Linked DNA regions of Homo sapiens: all the other regions are linked to region 1. Evidence: promoter capture Hi-C in 16 types of primary human blood cells and fetal thymus (Javierre and others, 2016). All regions are on one chromosome and are shown on one strand. The core of a region is centred on a gene start or on the middle of the fragment in contact, and the rest is flanking DNA. Distances in the headings are between cores, read along the strand shown. Region 1 holds the start of TNFRSF19 (TNF receptor superfamily member 19). Region 2 overlaps MIPEP (mitochondrial intermediate peptidase). Region 3 overlaps MIPEP (mitochondrial intermediate peptidase). Region 4 has its middle 16 kb from the start of C1QTNF9B.

The links. The method cuts DNA at HindIII sites, captures the fragments that hold promoters and counts their contacts. A CHiCAGO score of 5 or more calls a contact.
Region 2: a fragment that was not itself captured here is called in contact with the fragment with the promoter of TNFRSF19 in region 1 in 9 of 17 cell types (erythroblasts, M2 macrophages, megakaryocytes and 6 more); the score reaches 11.4 in erythroblasts.
Region 3: a fragment that was not itself captured here is called in contact with the fragment with the promoter of TNFRSF19 in region 1 in 13 of 17 cell types (erythroblasts, M2 macrophages, M0 macrophages and 10 more); the score reaches 16.6 in erythroblasts.
Region 4: a contact is called between a fragment that was not itself captured here and the fragment with the promoter of TNFRSF19 in region 1, in 5 of 17 cell types (megakaryocytes, fetal thymus, erythroblasts and 2 more). The highest score is 6.8, in megakaryocytes.

What each region holds. Positions count from the first base shown.
Region 1 is chr13:23,568,710-23,572,041 of GRCh38, reverse strand. TNFRSF19 (TNF receptor superfamily member 19) reads right to left here and starts at 1,630. Exons shown (of 10, transcript NM_148957.4): 1 at 1,194-1,630. RefSeq lists an enhancer at 3,195-3,332. The HindIII fragment of the contact is 1,879 bases long and covers 1,622-3,332 here.
Region 2 is chr13:23,842,949-23,846,332 of GRCh38, reverse strand. All of the region lies in intron 10 of MIPEP (mitochondrial intermediate peptidase), which reads left to right. Among named protein-coding and RNA genes, the nearest start is that of PCOTH, 44 kb to the left of the region's middle. The HindIII fragment of the contact is 1,652 bases long and covers 1,280-2,931 here.
Region 3 is chr13:23,859,629-23,863,183 of GRCh38, reverse strand. It overlaps MIPEP (mitochondrial intermediate peptidase), which reads left to right. Exons shown (of 19, transcript NM_005932.4): 9 at 822-882. Among named protein-coding and RNA genes, the nearest start is that of PCOTH, 27 kb to the left of the region's middle. The HindIII fragment of the contact is 3,133 bases long and covers 576-3,555 here.
Region 4 is chr13:23,912,168-23,915,254 of GRCh38, reverse strand. It overlaps the pseudogene ANKRD20A19P. Among named protein-coding and RNA genes, the nearest start is that of C1QTNF9B, 16 kb to the right of the region's middle. The HindIII fragment of the contact is 6,728 bases long and covers 1-3,087 here.

The sequences.
Region 1 (3,332 bases), core at 381-2,880:
GAAATGAGACTCATTAGACCTTTCCTGTTTCATCAGAATTTCAGACTAAAGGATAACTGGTCTTATCACTTATGGTTTCTTTATGGTTCAGCTAGCATCAAATAGACTTGTGATAATAATTAAATATTTTGCCCAGATAAATTTAGGACTAGAACATTAAAAAAAAAAACATCGCGAACAAAGTAACAGTGTTACTTTTCCATTGTATTTAGTTTTTATATTTCACTGTAAAGATTTTACTGTGTGTGTGTGTGAGCGTGAGTGTGTGTGTATCATGAACTGACAAAAAAATAACAGTTAACTTTCAAATTCGGTACAGCAATATAATTTGGTTTTGTCATGTTGGGCATTAGCTAAAGTGAAAATGTGACTAAGATACTTTATGTAACATAATAACTGTTGATTACTCAGATAGTTTTCATAAACAGTTGGCAAATTTTGACTTAAAACAGCTGTCACTATAAATGTAAAGTAAATGTTAATTTAGGAATATTAACCTTGTGAATGTTTCTGTAAATAAGGCTTATGCTATTTCCAAAGGTTATAGAAAATCACTGGAGTATTTTTAGCCAAACTTAGTGCAACTTTATCCTCACTGTTTTTAAATTCTTCAGTTTTACACATAAAAGTCTTTAATCATACTTGATGGTTTTTCAGTGATTCCCTTGAGTGTACAAACTGCATAAGGAAGTGTATTTGATAGATTTACATCTTGGAAGTGAGAGAATAAATAAACTAAAGAAACAGTATTGCCAGAGATACATTTTACTCTTTTATATAAGAAAACAAAGAAAGCATTTTCAACAAGCAAAGTTGCACTGACTGTTTACTAAATAAGGTAACCTGTAAATACTTAGAGCAATTATAGCTCACAGATCTCAGGGGTTGAAGTACCAGTTGCATGCTAAAGTGAGCGCTGTTCTGTTTTGTCCTGTTTGTACAACTCATTTCCAAGTAAAATTTGTATGACAGACTGCAAACCCTCTTGTACAAACTACTAAAAATTACATCAAGTTCCATAGTTACTCTGATACACACATTCAGCATCATGTAGTATTCAGCTGTATAAATGCTTTCTAAAAAATTAATTAAAACCATTCTTTTCTCAGAACACATGCGAAAAATGCAGTGAAAGCTATAACAAAGCTTAAAACAGAGTACCTGCAACATGCTGAGCTCTTTGCAGTACTTACCCGTTCAGCAACTTAGTTTCTCCTGGCAGCACTTCTGTGCCAAATGCTTCTACCTTCCCAAAAATGTATGTCAGCACAAGCCCAGACGAAACTTCAAATCCAGGAAAATAAAATTAACCATGCAGATCAAAGGCAGACGAGCAGGGAGATGAAATGCCTGTAATCTGATCAGTGAATCAGTTGCTGAACATCAAAGGCAGGGCTGAGTTTATATATATGCATGGATATCAAAGAAAGTTCACTTTCAGCAGGTAGTTACCCTCCCACCTCCTAGTCCACAGACTCTTTTGTTAAACATGGATCACGTTGTTTTCCTCCTCTTTTTTGCAATGAGGCAATGCTGGTAGTTCTCCCATGCTTGGGCTGAGTGGCTGGATCTGTAGCTTTTTTGGTTCCCAAGCTGTGTTGTGGACTGTGTGTTGGAAGCTTTTCCTAGTGCCAGCGGGTTCTGCTTTATCCCTTTCATCTCGCTGAACTGCAGATCCCATGACATCATTCAGCGCCGTGGGACTGGTAGGAGAGCTATAATTCAGCCTGTGGGGGAGTATAGCTCAAGAGAAGCCAGAGTTTGGCTGATTTCTAATCATGTTAGACTATTGTGCCTCACACAGGACAGTTTCTGTTATCTGTCTGCCAGCTGGAAAGGACAGCAACTGCTGCTGGATGCTTCTTGGGTGATAAGATCCCTGATGGATGGACGTGCCAAATGACAGCATTTAATTGCCTCTTCGCTGATAAAAATCACAATTTCCTACAGAGACTGGGTGTCAAATATTCAGCATAGTTAAATAGCACTATGAGACCACTCTAAAAAACACCCAAGGACACTGCCAGATGGACCGATAACATTTTCACATTTTGATTCCAGTTTTCAAAGTGACAAGTCTTTAAGGATTTTAAGGAAACTGCCCTTTCTTTGAAACATACATTATTAGGATCTGATTACCAATCAAACCGGGTTGTGTTAAGTAGTTAAGCAGCAGATAACCAACAATTCATGAATAAACTGCCATCTTCCACTGGCTCACTTAAGACTTTGGGCGGAGACTTAATCTCAATCTTTGCCTTAGTTCGGGACTCTGGAAATTAGATTTTAAAGCAATATCTACTTCTTAGACATATTTCATTAATACTTGTTGAGCATTTTAAAATTCACAAAAGAAGAATTATGTAGAACAAAGCATTTGCCCTGTGATTATTCCAAAGCCATGTTATTTGCCTTTTAGGGCTGTTTCTTCCGAACTCATAGTTTGGACTTTCAACTCACTAAAAAATTACCACCTTAGCCTAATTCTTCGTATTTTAAAATTAAATATATTGCTCATTATTTAAAAATTTTAAGCTATTTTCCTTAACAATGTCAGATTCAATACAATATGATTATTTTATTTTGAGTATTTAGTAAAATAGAAGATAAGAAGAAGTTTCATCTTCCTTGAAATCCAGGATATGGTGCTTTTCTGATTTTCAGACAGTTCTTTCATGGAATGAAGACAATTTTTCTATTTTATAATGGAAACTCACTAACTTTTAGAAAGTAAGTTAAAAATATTTTTGCAAAACTTAGGGGATAGTAGAACTCAGTCTTTTTCAATGTAACTTCCCTCCTTAACTGGTTTTGTCTAATTTTTCCTGACGCGATATTTGAAAACGTTATTTATGAAGTGTTTATTTCCAGATTTCTATGATTCTTGAATAATTTTAATAGCAAAATATTTAGTTTGAACTGTTCATAAGTTCTGTATAACATTTAAATAGTCCTGTTGATTTTTCCATGTTTCTTGTATAATTTTTCTACTTATACATCATTTCTCAAAAATGCACAGGGCTCAAATAGTATTTGAACTGGCAGGTGTGATGCTTAAGGACTTCCTTAAAGCAGACCAGGAAAATTCCTGTGACATCTGGGCTTCACATACGTTTCCTGGGCATCTTGAACCCATGAATACAAAGAAAATATTTACAAAGACAAAATATTTACAAGAAGGCATGTGCCCATTTCTTTTCTGAGGTAGTCCAAACCTACCACCAGCATGGAATCCATATGCCAACAGCCTGCACTCAGGATTAAAGTTTCCCGATACACTGATATATTAAATCAGAGCAACTAGACACTCTGTAAGGCTCATTGGCTAAGCA
Region 2 (3,384 bases), core at 856-3,355, 270 kb before region 1:
TCTCTCCTCTTCTTCCTTACTACTAATAGCAGCTATTCCCCCATTGTATGCATTCTGGGGAGATCCAGTAAATGTTGGCAAAATAAAGGGCATATCTCTATTCTTCTCCTCTCTGGTGCCTAGCAAAATTAAGAAAAAGAGCATCAATATATCTATATCTATATGTAACAACAAGACAGATCAGGAGGTCAAGGCAGGAGGAGGGGAATCAGTAAATATTATCTAAAATTGCTAAACCAATAAATAAATGTTTATTTTAAAACCAATAGAGGCCCGTATCTACCAAAAGTATCAAAATTAGGAGGCAGGAGAATCGCTTGAACCCAGCAGGTGGAGGTTGCAGTGAGCTGAGATCATGCCACTGCACGCCTGGGTGATAGAGCATGACTCCGTCTCAAAAAAAAAAAAAATTAAAAACAATAGAGAAACCACCAGAGAAGCTAAAATATAGACTATAAATATCACTAATATATCAAATTATTAGAAAGAAAAAGGAAATGCAGCACACATAGCTAAAGAAGGAAAATAAAGGAAGCATTAAAAGAAACGTAACAGAATTACATTGGCGAGAGTGAGAGCACTAGGTATTTTCATACACTGCAGGTAGGAATGTAAGTTAGAAACAGCTTTTTTTAGAGGATAATTTGGAAATACATATCAAAAAACTTAAGATCTTGTACTCTTTGCAGCAATGCCATTTCTTCAGTTTATCTTATGGATAGGCTTGTGTGGGTGTGACAAGGACATTTCACTATGGCATCACTTTAACAGATAAACTAACAGCAGCTTACCGTCAGTTAAAAGGAACAGAGGCAGACCAAGGCAGGGAAGTGAGCTCTGGGTGTGGCCTAACGGGATGCATTTTCTGTAAAAAAGTTAAAATCAATAATAAAACTGATGAAAAGTCTGGGTTCCTTTAATATCCCCATATGTGGGAAATTCCAAACGATGTCAGTGGTCGGATGCTTCCCCCATTGATGCTTCAGGCTCTCATTGACCTTGCCTCCTCTGCTCATGTACAACACAACAGGAGATGCATGAAATGAGCTTTGTCATGTGTTTGCTGTGGATGACTACACCCATGAAAGAAAACAGGCTAGAGCTTTATATACTAAACTGGAAAGTATTCCAAGTTATATTTTTATGAAAAATATATGTGTAAAAATACATATCATTGATATATTTTTATGTTAAATAAAATTGCGAGATAGTGTGAATGGTATGATTCTATTTGTGCCAAAGTAGGTTTATATATACATAAAGTTTACATGCATAAGCTTCTAAGAGTGTGCATAGGAAATGCCTGGAAGGATACACAAGATATTTACCTCTGGGGGTGGGCATAGTGAGCCAGGGGACAAGACAGTATACTTTTTGCCCATTGTTAATATTTTTGAGGTGTTTTTATTTTAAAACAGGCAGTTTAGAAATTCATTTGTTCCCAATCATTTTAGGGTAATATTGTAATATTATATGAACTTATATTCTATACTTAAATTTTTTTTCCAAGATAAATTGTTTCCTTGAATTTTGCCCAACACATAATGATTGTCATGGTCATTGGATAAGACAGTAAATATTTTTAGGTTATAGTTTAGTAAAATAAGCTGTGTTACTAGCTTTACTGTGTTTCTTTTCCATAAAAATAAATGTTCATTATAATCTTAAGAAGGGTAGAATTTTAATATGTAAAGTTTCTTTTTATTCTCCTTTATTTTTGTGTTTTTATTGTCTGGAAACAAAAAAATGAATTGCTTTTTATAACCAATTATAGTTTAAACTTTCTTGCCTTGGTAGTAGGTTCTATGGGAGGTTTCTGCTCTGGTAAGCTGTGATTCTCTATGGCTGCCTGCCTTTCTTTCCAGTTTTGGGGGCAGCAGTTTGCTCTGTGGCCTTGATTCTCTGCTGAATCTAAGAAGATTCTTGATTTTCAGCTTGTTCAGCTTCCTGCTTGTTAGGATGGAGTGGTGACTTTCAACCTCCTCATGTGCAGGAGTGGAAACCTCAAGCCTGGACCACTTCCTTTTATAGTTTATTTTCTCCCCTCTTTCCATGCACTCCTTTCTCTCAGTTCTTCAGTACCTCTGAACTGTTCTGTGTCTTCCTTCCCACCCCTCCCTCTGGTAGTTCAGGGGTCTGCCCTTTACCTTCTCTGCCCGCATCGCCCTTCCCTAATGGCCCTGTCTCCCTCTATGGCTCTAATATCTGTACAGTGAAGTCTCCTTGTTCTCCTTAGCTTTGGGTCCTGAGTGTCTGGTATCTCATGGGCACTTCACAGTCGGTTCCTCCAAAATGGAGTTTATTTTCTGTGAGCCCTCCATCCTCCTCCCATCATTGCACCTCACCCTCCTCTCTTCTCCCACAAACACACCCAGATTCCCCTCTTCCTTTTTTGTGTTCATTGTGCCGGCTGATTCAGTGACTCTACCATCCACTTATTTGTCCAAGCCAGAAACCTGAGTGTTATTCTAGATTGTTCTGTCTTTCTCATCACCCTCCAAATCCAATCACTCACACAGTCCTGAGACGTTTGCATCTCAAAGGAAAAACACATTCATCCCTGACCCCACTGCCCTCTGTCAGAGTTCACCCTCTGAAGCCTGGAAGTCTGTCCTCCTGTCAGCCCTCCCTGCCTCCTGCATTCCACCCTCCATGCTGTCCACTGTGCAGCATTCCAGAAAACATCAGATGCTCCCCTATGGCCTACAGAAGCTGTCTCCCAAATGGCATCTGTAAGCAATTCATTGAGAGTGTAGTCATAAAATATTAGAAATTCTATGTATATTTATTTTTCTTTATCTCAACTTATAAAAATGTCTGCTTTTCTTTTTGCAATGTGATAAAACAATACCACATGCATATACTTTATGAGTGTACTAATAGAAGGTTGAATACTCAAAAGTTATTTTAGTGTGCATTGGTGAGGAAGCTTAGAGGCCATGGCCTATGGTGCATGGTCCCAGTTCCTCAGCTTAGTGGACCAGGCCCTCTGTTTTCTGGCCCCTGCCTGCCTTTTCCAGACTCCGCTCCCATTCTTTCTACATTTATCCCTGCATTGGTAACTGCTTCATCTTTAACCACATCCTTTCTAGAAGTTACCAGGCTATTTTATGCCATCATACTTTAGTTATACTGTCGCTTCTGCCTAGAATTCCTATTATGATTCCCATTTTCCATTCCTCATCCCAGCCCTGCCTTGCAAAGTCTGATTCCTTTTTTTTTTTTTTTTTTTTTTGAGATGGAGAGTCTTGCTCTGTCGCCCAGGCTGGAGTGCAGTGGCACAATCGTGGCTCACTCAACCTCCGCCTCCTGGGTTCAAGCAATTCTCTGCCTCAGCCTCCCGAGTAGCTGGGATTACAGGCACCCGCCACCACACCCGGCTAA
Region 3 (3,555 bases), core at 893-3,392, 290 kb before region 1:
TTTCTCTTTTTCTCTTGTAATGCTGTCTAAAATTTTGTTTGCCTGTTGTGGCTACACCAACACATTGGATCTTGGCTCACATTTCTGTTTTGGACTATAAACTCATGCCTTAGAACTCATTCTTCTCTAGTTTGGATTATGTTTATAAATTCTAAAATTTTCTTTTAATGATCCTGGTGAACCACTGTGTCTTTGATACAATAAAGAAAGAGGGTTAGTTATGCACTTATTGAGGATTTATCCTGCTTTACTTAGTTAAGTGTTAGTAGTCTTTCTCTACATAGCTATAGATTTTAGAGCAAGCATAGCTTCATCATTTTACAGGTATATATAGGAATTAATTCCAATATACATGTCATATTCTACAAATATTAAATACCTATTTAATTATTGACCAGCTAGAGTTTTTCCAAAGGGGAAAAATGACTAGAAATCTTAAATGTAGCCAATGATAAAATTCCTTTCTAGGAGTTAATTTGTTAAGTCTCTTTTAAAGGTATAGCAAAAAGTAGTGATTTAAAGTTAGTGATTAATGCTTTGCATATTTGTAATGACATTGCTAGTTTTTCCAAGCTTTAGTACTCTTGAGACATTTATCCACCATGATGCTTTTTAAGGTAGAAATCGCAGTAATATGCTGCTTTATATATTGTTATTTCTCATGACACTTAGGTAAAATTTGGATTAATAGTGATTTATGTGTGCACTACTAATTGTATCTAATCTTATGAATATTGGAATGTAACATAAGCAAACTAGTCCTTTCATAATGTAATTGTTAAAATTTTGTCCTAACAAGTAATGATAAACCTGTTTTATAGAACTCTGAAAGATTTTGAGATGATACGAGGGATGAAAATGAAACTGAATCCTCAAAATTCCGTAAGTATGTTGGAATATTTTTATTATAATATAGACAGTCTGTCAACTGAAATCAATATCTTTTGATTCAGGAACTTTCTTGTGATAGGCTACAGGTCCATTTAGTCTTGTTTCTGATCCTCGGTTTTGGTGAATAAAGATGTTGAAATATTTGATTCTTATGTCCCAAACTGATGTTGCCTGTACATACAGCATTTTTGTTGAGGAGTCGACATATTTTATGTATATACACTAACACAATGTGTATATATTCATGCAAAGACTGCTTTCATTCTGTGGAATGTTGGCTTCTCAGTTTGAAGCAGACTTTAAGGAGACTCAGTGGAGGCTTCATCTGGCAGGTGGCAATTTTAACCATCAGTGTTAATGTTGCAGTTCATTTGCTTATTTGTTAGCTAATTTATGGTGCCCAATTGAGTATTTGACTAACAAAGTATACCACATTCTAAAAACACTTAAGTGTTGTTTTCAATCATATGATTATATGATCTTCCTTATGTGATCCAAGAGTATAGACAAGTATTGTTATGGCCAGAATGCTGCCCAGGTGATTGGGGGAGTGCCCTGAAAAGTGTCGAGAGTCCAGATATTAGGACTCATTCCCATTTGGTTCTAGGGCACTACAGGATTGCCGGGGTTGTCTACACCATTCTTTTCCAAATGCTGTTATTAGTTCTTGACTTAGTTGCTGCTGCCAGAGCCATAGTCATAAGGAAGATTTAGGGAAATGGGCCTTGCAGATTTACAAACTGTTTACTAGCTTCCCAGATACAGCCACTAGGAAACAGATTAATCCCATTAAACTCAGCGATGTGTAGAGTAGCATGTCAGTCTGTTAATTTATGGAAGGAGCTGTGTCTAGCAAAGTAACTACTGTTAGTCATCTGCACAGTCATCTGCACACCTTGACCTGGTAGGTAGGCTTATTTGGGAAACCAGATAATAGGTAAGAATTTAGTTTGGTGACTATAGAAACAGAAAAATAAAAAACAAAATGTGTTGCCAAAAGCTAATTCAGTAAAAGTGAATATGACTTTAAACTGTTATCTGTAGATATTTGTATATAGCTTATGGATACAATTATTCTGCAGATATTTGTGAAATGCCCAATCTCCTCATGAAGTCCCTGCTTTGGTGAATGGTGCCACCATTCACCCTGCTGCTCTGGTCAGGACCTATACTTAATCCAGACCAGTGGTTCTCAAAGTGTGGTTCCTGGACCAGAAGCAGTAGCATCACATGGGAGCCTGTTAGAAATGCAAATTCTTGAGCCCCACCTCAGACCCACTGAATCAAAAACTGGGGTGAGCTCCACAATCTGTGTTTCAACAAGCACCCCAGGCACTGCACACTCCCCTCCCCCATAATCATTTGTTAGGTCCTGCAGATTCTCCCTCCCTGTGAACTCTTGTGTCTTCTCCTGTGCCCATTGCCATAGCCTGGGCTATGATCCCAATCATTATTCTCACCCAGATGGTAACTGGGATTGCCTAACTGGTTTCTAGCCTTTTGTTTTTGCTCCACTCGAAGCCGTCTTGGATTCAGACAGTTTAGCCATGTATTTAGCCCAGTGTTAGGCATAGAATTGGTTGTCAACACTTATTTGAACTATGAATGAATAATGAATGAATGAATTGCCACCAGAGGGATTTGTCTAAAAAGCAGATCTGATCTTGTCACTCTGTTGTTTAAAATTATTCAGTAGCTCCTGGTTATTCTCCAGTTTCCCTTCCTACTACCCTGCTGCTCCCGCCAAGCCCTCATGATTTGGCCCTTGCCTCCTTCTCTAGCTTCATCTTCTGCTGCCCCTCCAAGCCGAGGCTGTGTTCTTTGCTCTCTCCTAATACCTGTGTGATGCTCATGTGATCTCTATTCACTTAGTTTTGCTTTCTTTCCTTGCTTTGCTTTCTTTGATTCTTTAATTTGAATTAATATTTACGTGCCGGCCACATAAATATGGCATGGTGAGCAGCTTCCAGTCATTTACAAACACCACCTACAGGAATGCCTTTCTCCCTTTCTCATCTGGATTAACTGCTTCTATCATAAAACTCAATTCAGGCTTTGCCTTCTTGAGAACATTTCCTAACCTTCCGCTGTGATTTAAATACTCTTCTTGTGGGCTGTGTTTTACATGGCACAATGTAGACATGACATACTGTCCTCTGATTGTTGAGTCACTTGCCCTTCTACTGCCTAGGCTATCATCCTCTTGTTTTTGTCTGATTACAGCCTGCACTCTGTCTGCATCTAGCAGATAGCAAATAATCATCTGTTAGAGAAAATGTGTGCCAGGACCAGAACACTGTGGGGCTAGGGTTCCATGGACGCAGTCCCTGCCCTTCAGGCACTCATGAGGAGAAAGAAAATAAGCCTACAAGTATCTTAGGTTGTCATGCATCCCATGATATAAGTATTACCATGGAATATGGGAAATAACACCTTGTTATTGGAGGAGATTATGCCTAAACTGAAATGTTAAAGGATAATGGTAATAAGGAGAGTAGCCAACATTTGTTGAGCCCTTACTCAATGCCAGATATTCTACTTAATAGTTTAAGTACATTCAGCAGTCTTCTTTGGGAGGTACTGTTGATTCTTTCAACAAATATTTACTGAGTGACTACCCTGGGCCAGGTACTGTTCAGGGGACAGGAATGTAATAGGGAAGGA
Region 4 (3,087 bases), core at 461-2,960, 340 kb before region 1:
TTTTTAATTCATAGGGTAGATTTTAAAGTCGCTAATAATTCTATGCAATATTCCTAATTTATTTCTATGAAAATGTACAGAAAAACCTTCATTATTTTTGCATAGGCTTAATAGGTCGTGAGTGTTCTTACAAAAGTTCTAGTTTCCCTGATAGGTTTAATCGGAATGATAAAATTGCATAAATCTTCCTATTGTGACTTAAGGAAACTCGTTAGTAGGAGCATCTACCTCATTGCTCCAATTTAGTATTCATGACACAATTTTCTGACCTTCATTCCTACAAAGGAAAGCATGAATGTCAGGAGAATTCTGTTTTGCTTTGTTATCATTTATATAGTTTTCACTCTACATCAATAAATTGATATCCTAGAGTATGTATCCATCTTTTCTGCGATTGGACTGTTAAGGCTTTGAAAGGCTGATGAACACAGGTGAATGGAAAAAGATTACTTTCTGAACATTATGTTAGGAGGACTATGTTACTCCCTAAGGCCCTCCTGGAGCACCCATTTCTACTTTTTCACTGGCATCTCTTTTCTTTTTTTTTTAACTTGCAGTAAGAAAAACACATGCTGTAGGGGAAAAAATACTTGTATAATGAAGTAGTATCCATTAGCAGCATTATTTCTAATGGCCAAAAGATGGAAATAACCCAACTTTCCCTCGATGCATGAATAAATTTTTTTAAAATGTATATATAGGCCAGGCGTGGTGGCTCACGCCTGTAATCCCAGCACTTTGGGAGGCCGAGGCAGGTGGATCACGAGGTCAGGAGATCGAGACCGTCCTGGCTAACATGGTGAAACCCCGTCTCTACTAAAAATACAAAAAATTAGCTGGGCACGGTGGCGTGCACCTGTAGTCCCACCTACTCGGGAGGCTGAGGCAGGAGAATGGCGTGAACCCGGGAGGAGGAGCTCGCAGTGAGCCGAGATGGCGCCACTGCCCTCCAGCCTGGGCGACAGAGCGAGACTCTGTCTCAAAAAAAAAAAAAAAAAAAGTAGGTATAAAATATTGATTTTAGACTATCATAATCTCTTTTATTAAAATGTGACTTTTATCAAAATCATTAACTTTATGAATTCAGTCAACTTATTCTATGAAGTCAAGAAGATTGCACTACTAGTGGCAAGTAGTATCAATATGAATAAAATATTTTTTTATCAATGAGACTTTTCACATTGTCTGAAATATTCTTATATACTGATAGACCCCCAACTTACAATGGTTCAACTTGTAATTTTTTGACTTCACCATGGTGTGAAACTATTGCAATTTCAACACAGTCTGAATTTTGAATTTTGAATCCTGATCTTTTCCCAGGTTGGCAATACGCAGTACATGGGATATATAATACTTTATTATAAGACTTTGTGTTAGACGATTTTGCCCACCAGTAGGCTAATGTAAGTGATCGGATAATGTTTAAGGTAGGCCAGGCTGTGATGTTTGGTAGGTTGGGTATATTAAATACATTTTCATCTTACAATGCTTTCAATTTACAATGGCTTTATTGGGATGTAACCCCATCATAAGTTGAGGAGCTTCTGTACTATGGGTTGAAAATCTCTACTCTAAAAACCTGAAGCTCCAAAATCTGACACTGTTTGAATGCAGACATAATGCCCCAAGTGGAAAATTCCACATTTGACCTCATGTGACAGAACAACAGCAAAACACAGTCAAAACTTTGTTTCATGCACAAAATTATTTTATAAAATCCTGTATAAAATTCGGGCTATGTGTATAAGGTATATATGAAATGTAAGTGAATTTTGTGTTTAGACTTGGGTCTCATTCCTAAGATCTTTCATTAAGTATACACAAATATTCTAAAATCAAAAGAATACAAAATTTGAAACATTTCTGGTCTCAAGCATTTTGGATAAGGGATATTCAATCTGTCTTACTAGAAAAATAAAATTTCTATTCAGTATGACAGAAATTTAAAAATTGACTTACCAAACTTGGACTTAACCGGTTTTTCTCAAACTGTTCATTTTTTTCCACTTGATTTTTGACTGGAATTTTTACTTGGAAATTTTTTATATTAAGCCTAAAAGGTAGATTTTAAAATAATTATCCTCAAAGATACATTTCTAAAATATCACATAATTTCTAAGCATCTATGATTATGTAAATTCTTAAAGAGTTGAAAAATAGATGATTGGGAGACTGTATCATTTTTCTACCTATATTTTGTGGGTAATGTGCAAAATTTAGGAATAACGTACAAAAATTATGCATTTCAAAATAGCTTAAAGGTGAACTTTATCCTTGGCTTCACACAGATGCGCTTATTATCCTCACTCATACAATTATCATACTACATTGTTTATTTGCTTTATAAATACTCAAGTTACTTTAACTTATGCTTTTGCATGTAGTCTTGAGTCTTTTCAGCACCTCCTGTAACATCTGTGATTTGATCCTTTGCTTCTTGCAACTAAAACAAATAATCATAATAATAAACTCTACTTATAATCTAGTACAAACCTGCCCATCACCTGCTTTTGTAACTAAATTTTATCGAAACACAGCCACACCTCTTCAATCTGCATATTGTTTATGGTTACTTTTGTACTGTAACTAGAGAGTTGAGTTGTTGCAACAGAGATCCTATTGCTCACAAAGCCTCACATAATACTATCTGATCCTTTACAGAAAAGTTTACCAATCCTGCTCTAGGACCAGAACACAACATTATTCTATTTTTCTGTGTTTAAATTATATTTGATTAGATAAATACTCAACTTACAAAATTTGTAAAATGGGAAAAGATAGGAAATTAACATAAGATAAACCTTTATATTTTTGAATTACAAGCACCGTTACATCAACTTATTTAATTTTCTTTGTGTGTACACATCTAGTTTGATTGTAATAACTTGTATACTTTTAACATTTAAAACTAGCATCTTTCCAGTAAAACAAAAAGAAAATTTAAAAATAAACAAAAACAAAACTACAATAGACAATGTCAATTCCAAATGAGATCCTGATTCTCCTGTTTAGCAACAGAGTTCAAGCCATCATTAGGAGACAATGTATTTTAAAAGTGTCATCTTAAACTGCAAGGATATTCAT